Linked DNA regions of Homo sapiens: all the other regions are linked to region 3. Evidence: promoter capture Hi-C in human tissues and cell types (Jung and others, 2019). All regions are on one chromosome and are shown on one strand. The core of a region is centred on a gene start or on the middle of the fragment in contact, and the rest is flanking DNA. Distances in the headings are between cores, read along the strand shown. Region 1 overlaps GALNS (galactosamine (N-acetyl)-6-sulfatase). Region 2 holds the start of RNF166 (ring finger protein 166). Region 3 holds the start of ANKRD11 (ankyrin repeat domain containing 11).

Region 1 (3,636 bases), core at 995-3,494, 640 kb before region 3:
CCCCTGCCTGTAAGGCTCAGCTTGGCAGGGTGGCCGCTCCTTGCCTCAGCCCCTCCTAACGTGTGGAGTCCCAGAGCTGGGCCAGGTCTGGGCTTTTTCCTCTCAAAGGCCCTCCATGTCTCATGGGACACAATTCTGTTTGGCCCTTTTAGCTTTGGATCCCTTTTGAGATGGTTTATTTTTTTGAGACAGGGTCTCACTCTGACAAACAGGCTGAAGTACAGTGGCGCGATCTTGGCTCACTGCAACCTCTGCCTTCCGGGCTCAGGTGATCCTCCCACCTCAGCCTCCTGAGTAGCTGGGACTACAGGCACATGCCACCATGCCCAGTTAATTATTATTATCATTATTTTTTGAGATGGAGTCTCACTCTGTCACCCAGGTTGGAGTGCAGTGGCGTGGTCTTGGCTCACTGCAACCTCCGGCTCTTGGGTTCAAGCAATTCGCCTGCCTCAGCCTCCTGAGTAGCTGGAATTATAGGCACCCACCACCAAGCTCATCTAATTTTTGTATTTTTTTTATAGAGATGGGGTTTCACCATGTTGGCCAGGCTGGTCTTGAATACTGACCTCAGGTGATCCACCTGCCTCAGCCTCCCAAAGTGCTGGGATTACAGGTGTGAACCACCGTGTCAGGCCAACTTTTTTGTATTTTTGGTAGAGATGGAGTTTTGCCACGTTGCCCAGGCTGGTCTTGAGTGAACTGAGCTCAAGCAGTCCACCCGCCTCCACCTCCCAAAGTGCTGAGATCCCAGGTGTGAGCCACCACGCCCAGCCCTGAGATGGTTTATTTTGAAGTCACTGAAATGGCTTTTCTGAGGACAATGGAGGCTGGAATGAAAGGAGGACCTAGAGAGAGGTGTCCCCTGAAGCTGATGAGGAAGAAAGGGAGGTGGGAGGACAGGGGGCAGGACGCCCGCAGAGCTGCTCATGGGCTGAGAAGGGACCTTGGGCTCAGTGGCACCTAGTCACAGTGGGCGAATGCGCCCATGTCAGGGTGAGGTGCATCCCACTGAGGCAGCAGAAACCTGCAGTGCAGGCTGGGACGGTACAGCTCCCTGAGGCCAGCCTGAGGGGGACTGGCCACACACGCCCAAAGCTCCTTGCCCTCCACCTCCCCGAGTGCAGATTCATCCTCTCAGGTGGCTTCTGCACTTCCTGCTGTCTCCAGTCCAGGTGGGAGAGTACAGAATGGCAGGTGGGCCGGGGGCACAAGGCCTGGGATGGGAGGGAGCAGTATGTTTCGCCCGTTACACTGTCTGCCCATGCCCAGGACCACTGCTGGGCTCCCTTCGGGCTGGGAGTGAGGCCGCACATCTGAATACTGGGTGCCATGTGCCCGACCCTCCCTGCAGGCTGCGTCCTGAGGCTTCCCGAGGCGGGTCTGGCCTCCCCAGAAGGTCGGCAGTCAGCAGAGCTGCGTCCGGATCTGCTTGTGCTCACCTGGGTCATCCTCCTACCTGTTCCAGGCCACAAATAACATGAATGGATGCAGCGGAAAATGCTGTAAAGGGAGTGGGCTCCACGCTCATCACTCACCAGAAAATACTGCGGGGAGGAGTCCCAGGGCTTGAGGGAGGGGGCTCCACGCTCACCACTGACTCAGAAGATACCGCAAGGGAGCACTCTCGCTGGGAGGAGTCCCAGGTCTTGGCGACAGTCCTACTCACTGCCATGACTTACAACGGGGAGGGCATCAGCCAGGGGAGAAGGTGCGGGCGGGGCCGGGGAGACCAGCCGCAGCGTGGAACCCTCCCCAGGCGGAGCCACACGGGACGCTCGGGCTGCGAGCACAGGTGCGGGATGCTGACGGGGAAGCTGTGCGAGACTCAGTTCCCAGGGCTTTTGCCTAGGCTGGCAGTGCGGCCGCCTCTGCCTGGCATGTGCCGAGACTCTTTATGCCCAGAAGGAGGATGCTGGGCATAAATCGTGGCATGTGCAAAAACAGTGTGGCAAGGTGAGCTGCTCCTATCAGCGAACAGCGGGGGGACCTCCTGTTCCCAGACGCCAGCCGAGGGCAAAAACCTCCCACACATGTGCCTTCTGACCAGCCGAGGGCAACGTCCCACACGTGGGCCTTCTGAGGACAGCGTCCCAGGCTGCTGGGCCAGCTCTCATCTGCTGACCCTGTTCTTTCATTATTTATCGGCGCCTTTCTTGGCTATGAAAAGCAGGTGTGGACAGCCTCCCTGCAGAGTGAGCAGGTTACCATTGAACATCTAAAACCCCCACAGGGCACCACGGGCAGGAACCACCTTTCTTCTCTCCCTTAAAAGTCCTAAAAGGGCTGGATCCAGTGGTTCACGTCTGTTATCCCAACACTTTGGGAGGCTGAGGAGGGAGGATCGCTTGAGCTCAGGAAGTCAAGACCAACCTGGGTCTCACAGACAGACACTGTCACTAAAAAAAACTTTTTTTTTAATTAGCCGGGTGTGGGGATTCCGTTCCAACATGGCTGAATAGGAACAGCTCCGGGCTGCAGCTCCCAGCGTGATTGACGCAGAAGACGGCGATTTCTGCATTTCCAACTGAGGTGCCTGGTTCATCCTACTGGGACTGGTTGGACAGTGAGTGCAGCCCATGGAGGGTGAGCCGAAGCAGGGTGGGGCATCGCCTCACTCAGGAAGTGCGAGGGGTTGGGGGATTTCCCTTTCCTAGCCAAGGGAAGCCGTGACAGACTGCACCTGGAAAATCAGGACACTCCCGCCCAAATAGTGCGCTTTTCCAACGGTCTTAGCTAACGACACACCAGGAGATTATATCCCGGGCCTGGCTCGGAGGGTCTCATGCCCACGGAGCCTTGCTCACTGCTAGCACAGCAGTCTGAGATCCACCTGCGAGGTGGCAGCCTGCCTGGGGAGGGGCGTCCGCCATTGCTGAGGCTTGAGTAGGTAAACAAAGCGGCAGGGAAGCTCGAACCGGGCAGAGCCCACCGCAGCTCTGCAAAGCCTGCTGCCTCTGTAGACCCCACCTCTAGGAGCAGGGAATAGCTGAACAAAAGGCAGCAGAAACTTCGGCAGACTTAAACGTCCCCGTCTGACAGCTCTGAAGAGAGCAGTGGTTCTCCCGGCACAGTGTTTGAGCTCTGAGAACGGACACATTGCCTCCTCAAGTGGGTCCCTGACCCCCGTGTAGCCTAACTGGGAGATACTTCCCAGTAGGGGCCCACTGACACCTCATACAGGCAGGTGCCCCTCTGGGACAAAGCTTCCAGAAGAAGGATCAGGCAGCAATATTTACTATTCTGCAATAGTTGCTGTTCTGCAGCCTCCACTGGTGATACCCAGGCAAACAGGGTCTGGAGTGGACCTTCAGCAAACTCCAACAGACCTGCAGCTGAGGGACCTGACTCTTATAAGGAAAATTAACAAACAGAAAGGAATAGCATCAACATCAACAAAAAGGACATCTACGCCAAAACCCCATCTTTAGGCCACCAGCATCAAAGACCAAAGGCAGATAAAACCACAAAGATGGGGAGAAACCAGAGCAGAAAAGCTGAAAATTCTAAAAACCAGAGCACCTCTTCTCCTCCAAAGGATCGCAGCTCCTCGCCAGCAAGGGAACAAAGCTGGACAGAGAATGACTCTGACGAGCTGACAGAAGTAGGCTTCAGAAAGTCGGTAATAACCAACTT
Region 2 (3,716 bases), core at 548-3,047, 780 kb before region 3:
ACAAGGCCTAAGTCAAGCCTCACAGCGCTCAGTAACAGATGAGAAGGTGCGGAACACACCTTCAAACACCCGCTACCTGCTCACAAGAAGGAAGTCCTGCCAGGCGCGGTGGCTCACGCCTGTCATCCCAGCACTTTGGGAGGCTGAGACGGGCAGGTCACCGGAGGTCAGGAGTTCGAGACCAGCCTGGCCAACATGGTGAAACCCCTTGTCTACTAAAAATACAGCAATTAGCCGGGCGTGGTGGCGGGTGCCTGTAATCCCAGCTACTCTGGAGGCTGAGGCAGGAGGATCACTTGAACCCAGGAGATGGAGGTTGCGGTGAGCCGAGATGGCGCCACTGCACTCCAGGCTGGGTGACAAGAGCAAGACTCTGTCTCAAAAAAAAATATTCCCGTTCAGAGGCTGCCCCCCCAAAATGTCACGGCTAAGTGAGATGGAGGAGCAGGGGCAGAGCCTGTAGCAGCCTCACAAGAGAAGTAGGTAGAGCTGTCCCAGCGTGGGCAGGCGCCTGTGCTGCCTGACACAGGTAATGAAGGCAGCTCTGCATCCTGACACTGGCCCTGCCACCTCCGTGGGTGACCAGCACACATCCACCTAGCAGTCCCAGCTCCCTCTGTACCAGGAGCCCCTGAAGTCAGCTGACTTTGCTTGCAAAATGTTCTAGAGCCTCCTACCAGTCTGGGTGCACCCCCCTCCACTCCACCACCTCAGCAGCTTGGATGTCTGCGGGGAAGCCCTCCTGCTCTCTCTCTCCCCTGCCACTGCTGATTTTGCTCAAGAGCTGTATTATTCAGCACTTAGGAGGGAGCAGACACTGATCTAGGCTTCCTCCCAACGGGGCTGGCAGCTCCAGAATACTTGAGCACAGCTCCCCGCCAGGAGAGCCACGTCCTCCAGTTTCTGTTCCTGAAACACCCTGGAGGAGCCGGCTGTGAGCCCTGGTGCAGCTGGAAACCCCAGCAAGGTGGTCAGTGTCTGCTCCTCTGTGGACCAGCCTGCCTGGCTACTCAGTGATCGGTGTGACTCAAGTTCTCCTTCAAACAAAACTAAGAACATCAGACTCCAAACAAGCCCCTCTAAACTTTAGGGAACTCCTTTCCTCTGTAGTCAAAACAGGCAGACAGCGGGTCCGAACAAGAGTTGATAGCAAAAACTACAAGTTATTTATTTACAACTGCCCATTCCAGCCGCACAAGCCCAAATCCACCACCACTGGCGGAGCGGTGGCACCTGCTGCCCTCTGAGTACCGGAGCGCCCGCCGCAGCCGCCGGGGACCCCGAGCTTGGGCAGGGCCGCAGGTCGCCCGGTGAACCGAAGCAGCAGTCGGACCGGGCGCCTGCGGCTGGCGCGAAGGAGGCTGGGCGGGGGATGAACGCGCCCAGAGGGCAGAGGCGGCGCGGCACAGGGAAACCCGGACCCCACGCGCCCCGAGGCCCCGGCGCCCCGAGTCCCCGCGCGCCCAGTCCGGAGCTGCACCGGGGCGGCCGCCGGCCTCGCGACCCCTCCCGCGGCGGGGCACGGCCCCCTCCCCGCGGCCCCTGGGCGGGCGCGCTCACGTGTGGCCGCAGCTGCCGATGGCCACGGGCCGGTGATAGACCTCCAGGCAGATGGGGCAGGTGTACTGCGCCTCCAGGCCGCTGTCGCCGCCCGCCGGCCCGGCCGGCGGCTGCCGCTGCTGAGCCGAGGCCACCAGGCTGCGGAACATAGCCATCCCGGGGCCAGGCCCGCGCCGCCCGCCGCCCGCTGTCCTGGCCCGGGCCGGCCCGCTAGTCACAGCCGCTACTGCGCCGCGCTGACGTCATCGTAGGGCGCCGCCCCCAGCCGGGCTTCGCGGCCGTCACGGCGCCACTCCGACGTCATCGGGGCGCGCCCTCGCGCTGTCGCCGCCACAGTCTGCGACGGGACCCGGCGTGCCCATGTGTCAGGTGGGCGAGGACTACGGGGAGCCGGCGCCTGAGGAGCCGCCCCCGGCGCCGCGGCCCAGGTAAGAGCTGGCGGCCGGACCCGCCAGGCCGCCCCTCGCCTTCCCGCCGCACTCCTGCCCCGAAGGGTCCCGGCCGGGCTTGCTCCGGGAAGCCCCGCGTGGAGAGCGGGACCTCGCTCCCTAGCACTCGGGGAATGCCTGTCAAGCGGTGACGGCCACCTAGAAGGGGACTTACTCCACTGGCTCGCGCCTCTCATCCTAGCAGCCACTGGGGACGGCTCTGCCGCTGACAGTGCTGTCCTTATTCGGAGAGAACTGGTGCCGTGAAGCTGTCTCGCCTCCCCGTGTCAGCCTTGGGAGACTGAAAAGCGGCCTTTATGTGCCCCCTGAGCCGGCTTTTCTAGGCTAAACATCCCCCCAGAGCCTTTGTTTTTCTTGAAGTTTGGACAGAACACAAGCCTGGGTTTGTGTGTGTACCGAGGTGCCTTTCTCTGACCCAACTCAGGGTGAGAAACAGGAGCTGTCTCCCCAAAGCCCACTAGGCGTGGGGAAGATGTGATCTGTGTTTCTCTCTTCTCCCCCCTCCCATCTCCAAAGCCGTGAGCAGAAGTGTGTGAAGTGCAAGGAAGCGCAGCCCGTTGTGGTGATACGAGCCGGAGATGCCTTCTGCAGGTGAGGCCTGGAGGTGGCTGAGACCCTGGCAAACATGGCCTCGCTAGCAGACAGGATAGCCGCAACTTGTGATGCTTTGTTAATTCTTTTTAAAAACATGTACTTACTTTATTCCTGCTCCTGATGGGGTCCCTCGTGCCCCTGGTGTTGAAGTGGAGGCGAAAGCATTGGTTTCCTGCTTGGGAAAGTTTCCCATGAGCTAGCCACAGATCCCCTGATGAGGTTTCTGATGGAACTTATGGGGACAGTTGGAAGTGGGGCCGTGGTGTCTAGACTGGGATAAGCTGTAGGAGGACCAGGCGTTTGGGGGCAGCTGGAATACATCTAGGGGCGGATCAGAGCATCTTGGGAACTTGGCAGATGGTCTGGGTGAAAGTTTTTAATCTCGTGTGAGATGCTTGTTTCATCTGTGGCAGGATAGAGGCTTGGAAGACCTCTAGCTTTCCCCCAGGCGCTTGTCATGTCTTTCTTGGCTTGTAGCCATTGTATTGTTCAGTTGTTTCCACTAGACTCATAGCTCCCTGAAGGGAGGACCAGGTCTCTCTCCTTTTAGCCCTCTTAATTCCCAGTGGTGGTGCGTGGTTTTTTTGTTGTTGTTGTTGTTTTTTTTGAGATGGAGTCTCCCTCTGTCACCCAGGCTGGAGTGCAACAGCTGGAGTGCATGATCCCAGCTCACTGCAACCTTTACCTCCTGGGTTCAAGTGATTCTCCTGCCTCAGCCTCCTGAGTAGCTGGGATTACAGGTGCCTGCCATCATGCCCGGCCAATTGTTTTTGTATTTTTAGTAGAGACAGGGTTTCACCATGTTGGCCAGGCTGGTTTCGAACTCCTGACCTCAAGTGATCCACCTGCCTCGGCCTCCCAAAGTGCTGGGATTACAGGCATGAGCCACCACACCTGGCCAAGATAGGTACTTCTTTAACCACCCAGGAGCATCTGAAATTGCCAAGAACACCAGGCTGCCGGCAGAATTCACTGAGGAGAGGCTGCTGTGGCTGTATGCTAGGCCCTTGTGGCCAGAAGGGCTTTTGCTGTGCTTGCTGGTCCCAAGGAACAGTGGGGAGCCGGCTCTCTAGGGGAAGGCCTTAGGAATCTACATCGAGCTGGGATCCCCAG
Region 3 (3,511 bases), core at 73-2,572:
GCGCGCGCACACACATACACCACACACACAGCTACCGCCCTGCCAGGGGATGATGAAATGAGGAACGGAAATTAACATTTCAGGCAACGTCTCACATTGTTCCTTGAGGCCAAGGGCTGCTGTTGCAGCCGCCACCGCCACCGCTTTCCTCCCAGCCACCCCCCACACCCGCCCGCCTACCCTCCCCCTAACACCCCCCACACGGCTGCCCGCATTCCTGCCCCTCCTCGGCCTACGCGCGCCTCCTGCAACCCCGACGCCCCCAGGTCCCCAGTTCGCCCTCCCCCTCCGGCTCGGAGCCCGAGAGCCGCCTGCTCTCATTTCAAAACAGCGATAATAATAGGGACGCTGAGAATAACAACTACGACCAGCACGGCGAAGGCGCCCCTCTCGCGGGTCAGAGGTCGGCGCCCCAGCTCCGCAGAACCCGGCGCCCGGCCAGCGCCCCCTGGCAGCCCCTCCCGGCAGCCTCAGGTCCCCAAGACCTGCAGGCCCGCCCCGAAGCCCCCCGTCCGCCCCTCACGGCCGCTCCGAGCCCCCGAGGCCCGCCCCGGAGCCCCCTGTCCGCCTCTCACGGCCGCCCCGGGCCCCCACGGCCCCCAGGCCCGCCCCGGAGCCCCCAATCGGCCCCTCAGAGCCGCCGCGGGCCCCCGGCCACCCAGGCCCGCCCGGAGCCCCCGTCCGCCCCTTACGGCCGACCCAAGCTCCGCCGACCTCCCAGGCCCCCCCCGGAGCCCCCTATGGGCCCCTCACGGCCACCCCGGGCCCCCAAAGACCCCCGGCTGCCCCGAACCCGGACCCGTAGGCCCGCTCCGGGACCCATTATTGGTCCCTCACGATCGCCCCGGGCCCCCAAAGACCCCCGCCCACCCGGCCCCGACCCCCCAGGCCCGCCCGGAGGCCCGCGGCGCAGCTCCGTCGCCGGGGAAGGCCTGCAGGCCGCAAGGCCGCGCGAATGCCCCGTGCCCGCCCCGACCACCGCCCCCAGACCAGCGGCGCCTCTCACCGTGCTCCGAGGGCTGCGCGGCTCCGCGACGGCTCAGCGGCGGGGCGCGGGCGCTGCCCATGCAGCCCGCGGCCGCGTTTCCCGGGCCGCGCGGCCCGAGCGGCAAGGCGGCGGCGGCGGCGGCGCGGGCTCGGGCCCGGCAGAGCTGCGAGGGACGGCGGGAGGCGAGCCCGCCCCTCGGGCGCGCCCACGGCTCGGGCGAGAGCCGCGGCTCCCGGTGCGGACGCTACTGATGGGGCGTCTGGCCGCGGGCTCGGCGGCGGCGCCTCCCCGGCTGGGGCCCTCGGTCCATCGCGCACCGTCTCAGGGCGGCCTCTGGCTCCAGGACCCAGCGGCGGCTGCGGCGGGAGCCGGCCGCATGAGACGCTCCCGCCCATTGGCCCGCCGTATCCGCCACCGCCATTGGCCCGCCCCGGCCGGCCGCAGGGGCTGTGCACGTCACAGCGCCGTGAGTTAGTGCGCTAATGGAGTGAAGGAGAGAGGCGGGATTGACAGCCTCTCTGGCGGTCCGGAGGCGGGACTAGGAGGACGTCCCGGTAACGATTGGGCAGGGTCCTGCGTAAGGGCGCATGCGACACTGGAAGTAGCGAGCAACTGGATTGGCTGCCTCCGTCGCAAAGGAGGGTGGGTCTTGCATTCTCGGGCCTGACGATTGGTCTTTCCAAGTGCCGGAAGCAACAGGGATGTCGTCTGGAAACAAAATCTGGTATTGAAGCGCAGGGAGACAAAACGTCCACCTCTAGAGCCGAGGCGGCGGTTGCCTGTCGCGTGCCCGTGGTCTTCTGCCTGCCCCCGGACATCTCGGGCCACGTCCGGCCCGGCCTCCGGCCGCGCTGCCCTAACGGGCGTCACGGGGCATGAAGAGCTCTGGGCGGCTGCGAGGGGAGGGTACCGGGGCAGCGGGGCGGTCGCTCGGGGCTCCCGCGCGGTGACTCTTGCTCTGCCGTCGAAGAGAACGGCCCTCGGGCGCGTCGCGGCCGCGGCTCCAGAGCCCCTGGGCCTCGCGCTCTGAGAGCCTGAGCCGCTTGAGGAGGCCAAGCGCCCACGAACCGCATTCCCTGCCTTGCTAGTTAGTTCTCCAACACGCGAAAAAGGTAGACGAGGACTGGTTTTCTTTGCAGCTAAAATGAATCAAGCCTCTGGTAAGTGTGGATCCTGTTCTAAGTGCACCTGTGTTCTCCTCCAGAACTAAACCAAAAAGCAAGGTGAACAAAATCGGTGCTCCTTCAGTTTCTTCTTTAGTTCTGCATGTTACTGGGGACTAAGACAACGGGTAAGCAAACTATTTATAGGCCTCAATTTACGAAATAACGGAATTGCAAAGTCCGGAGTGGATAGGACCGTGAGGACGGTCTTTTTTCTTGGGCAACACGCATTATGGTCGAGAGATCAGTTGTTAAACCGCCCCTGTTCAAATCCCAGCCCTACCAGTGACTAGCGGTCACCCTGTAGGCTTTGTCTCTCAGATCTTCAGTTTCTTGGTGGGTAAAATGGGAACTACAAGTAGCACCTATTCTTTTTTTTTTTTTTTTTTGAGTCAGGGTCTCACTCTGTCGCCCATGCTGGAGTGCAGTGCTAACTGCAGCCTCAGCTTCCCGGGCTCAGAGGATCCTCCCACCTTAGCCTACTAAGTAGGTGGGACCACAGTCAGGCATCACCACACCCGGCTAATTTTTTAAATTTTCGTAGAGATAGGCTCTCTGTGTGTTTCCCAGGCTGGTCTTGAAATCCTGGACTCAAGCGACCCTCCCTCCTCAGCTTCCCAAAGTGCTGGGATTAGAGGCATGAGCCACGGTGCGGGCCAGGAGCACCTATTTCATAGGCCCATCGGGAAGATTAAATGAAGGGGCTGTGGAGGCTGTAGCACGGTGCTTGGCACGTATGTGAGCTCTGGGGAAACATTAGTTATGCTATAACTGGACCTTCAGCCTTCTCTAGGCAGCCAGATTTCGGGCTCCACCCACAACTAGTCACGCCATTGGATGAGGGGTGAGCGCCTGATAAAAACAGCCGGCGTATGCGCTGATGTGCGTTCACGAAGAGGTGATCCAAGTGTTTCCATATTTGCCTCACTGGACGAAGTATTTGGTAAAATTGACGAAATTCAGAGTCCTGGACCCCATCATCACCTATGGAATTATTCTAGATGAGAGGGGACTAGGCATTGGCATTTTTTTATTTTGGTCCCTTACAATACTCATCATTGGGAAAATTTGAAAAACATCAACCTAAGCCGTCATGCTCGCACTCGAGAATGTTTCCCCTAGGCTGATTGACGGGCAGTGGTATTCACAGGTGCGGTCAGCGCAGTCCAGCTTCAAACTTCCGGGGATCAAGTGATCCTCCCGCCTGAGGAGCTGAGATTACAGGCCTGCACCACCATGCTCATCTATCAGGGGAATTTAAAGTGCAAAATATTAATATGAGTAAGCAGGCAGTTGGCCTTCGAAACAGAATCTGAAAATACACTAAGGTAAAAGCAAACTGAATTTCGACAGAAGTAGA

What was found. Contacts are between HindIII fragments. The study calls those that stand out against the background at their distance.
Region 1: a contact is called between a fragment that was not itself captured here and the fragment with the promoter of ANKRD11 in region 3, in 1 of the 25 tissues and cell types used here (dorsolateral prefrontal cortex).
Region 2: the fragment with the promoter of RNF166 here is called in contact with the fragment with the promoter of ANKRD11 in region 3 in 1 of the 25 tissues and cell types used here (lymphoblastoid cells).

Annotation. Positions count from the first base shown.
Region 1 is chr16:88,848,948-88,852,583 of GRCh38, forward strand. The region is part of intron 1 of GALNS (galactosamine (N-acetyl)-6-sulfatase); the gene reads right to left. Among named protein-coding and RNA genes, the nearest start is that of GALNS, 6.2 kb to the right of the region's middle. RefSeq lists an enhancer at 1,227-1,396. The HindIII fragment of the contact is 6,360 bases long and covers 1-3,636 here.
Region 2 is chr16:88,704,611-88,708,326 of GRCh38, forward strand. RNF166 (ring finger protein 166) reads right to left here and starts at 1,798. Exons shown (of 6, transcript NM_178841.4): 1 at 1,561-1,798. The coding sequence starts at 1,715. CTU2 (cytosolic thiouridylase subunit 2) reads left to right here and starts at 1,893. Exons shown (of 15, transcript NM_001012759.3): 1 at 1,893-1,988; 2 at 2,526-2,600. The coding sequence starts at 1,921. RefSeq lists an enhancer at 1,273-1,910 and silencers at 1,532-1,811, 1,852-2,161. The HindIII fragment of the contact is 44,302 bases long and covers 1-3,716 here.
Region 3 is chr16:89,489,239-89,492,749 of GRCh38, forward strand. ANKRD11 (ankyrin repeat domain containing 11) reads right to left here and starts at 1,323. Exons shown (of 13, transcript NM_013275.6): 1 at 1,007-1,323. LOC101930112 (a long non-coding RNA gene) reads left to right here and starts at 1,732. Exons shown (of 2, transcript XR_933895.4): 1 at 1,732-2,148. LOC101927863 (a long non-coding RNA gene) reads right to left here. Exons shown (of 5, transcript NR_188547.1): 5 at 3,165-3,395. RefSeq lists enhancers at 1-382, 383-897 and silencers at 179-248, 289-398, 479-528, 1,103-1,582, 1,783-1,872 and 1 more. The HindIII fragment of the contact is 15,043 bases long and covers 1-3,511 here.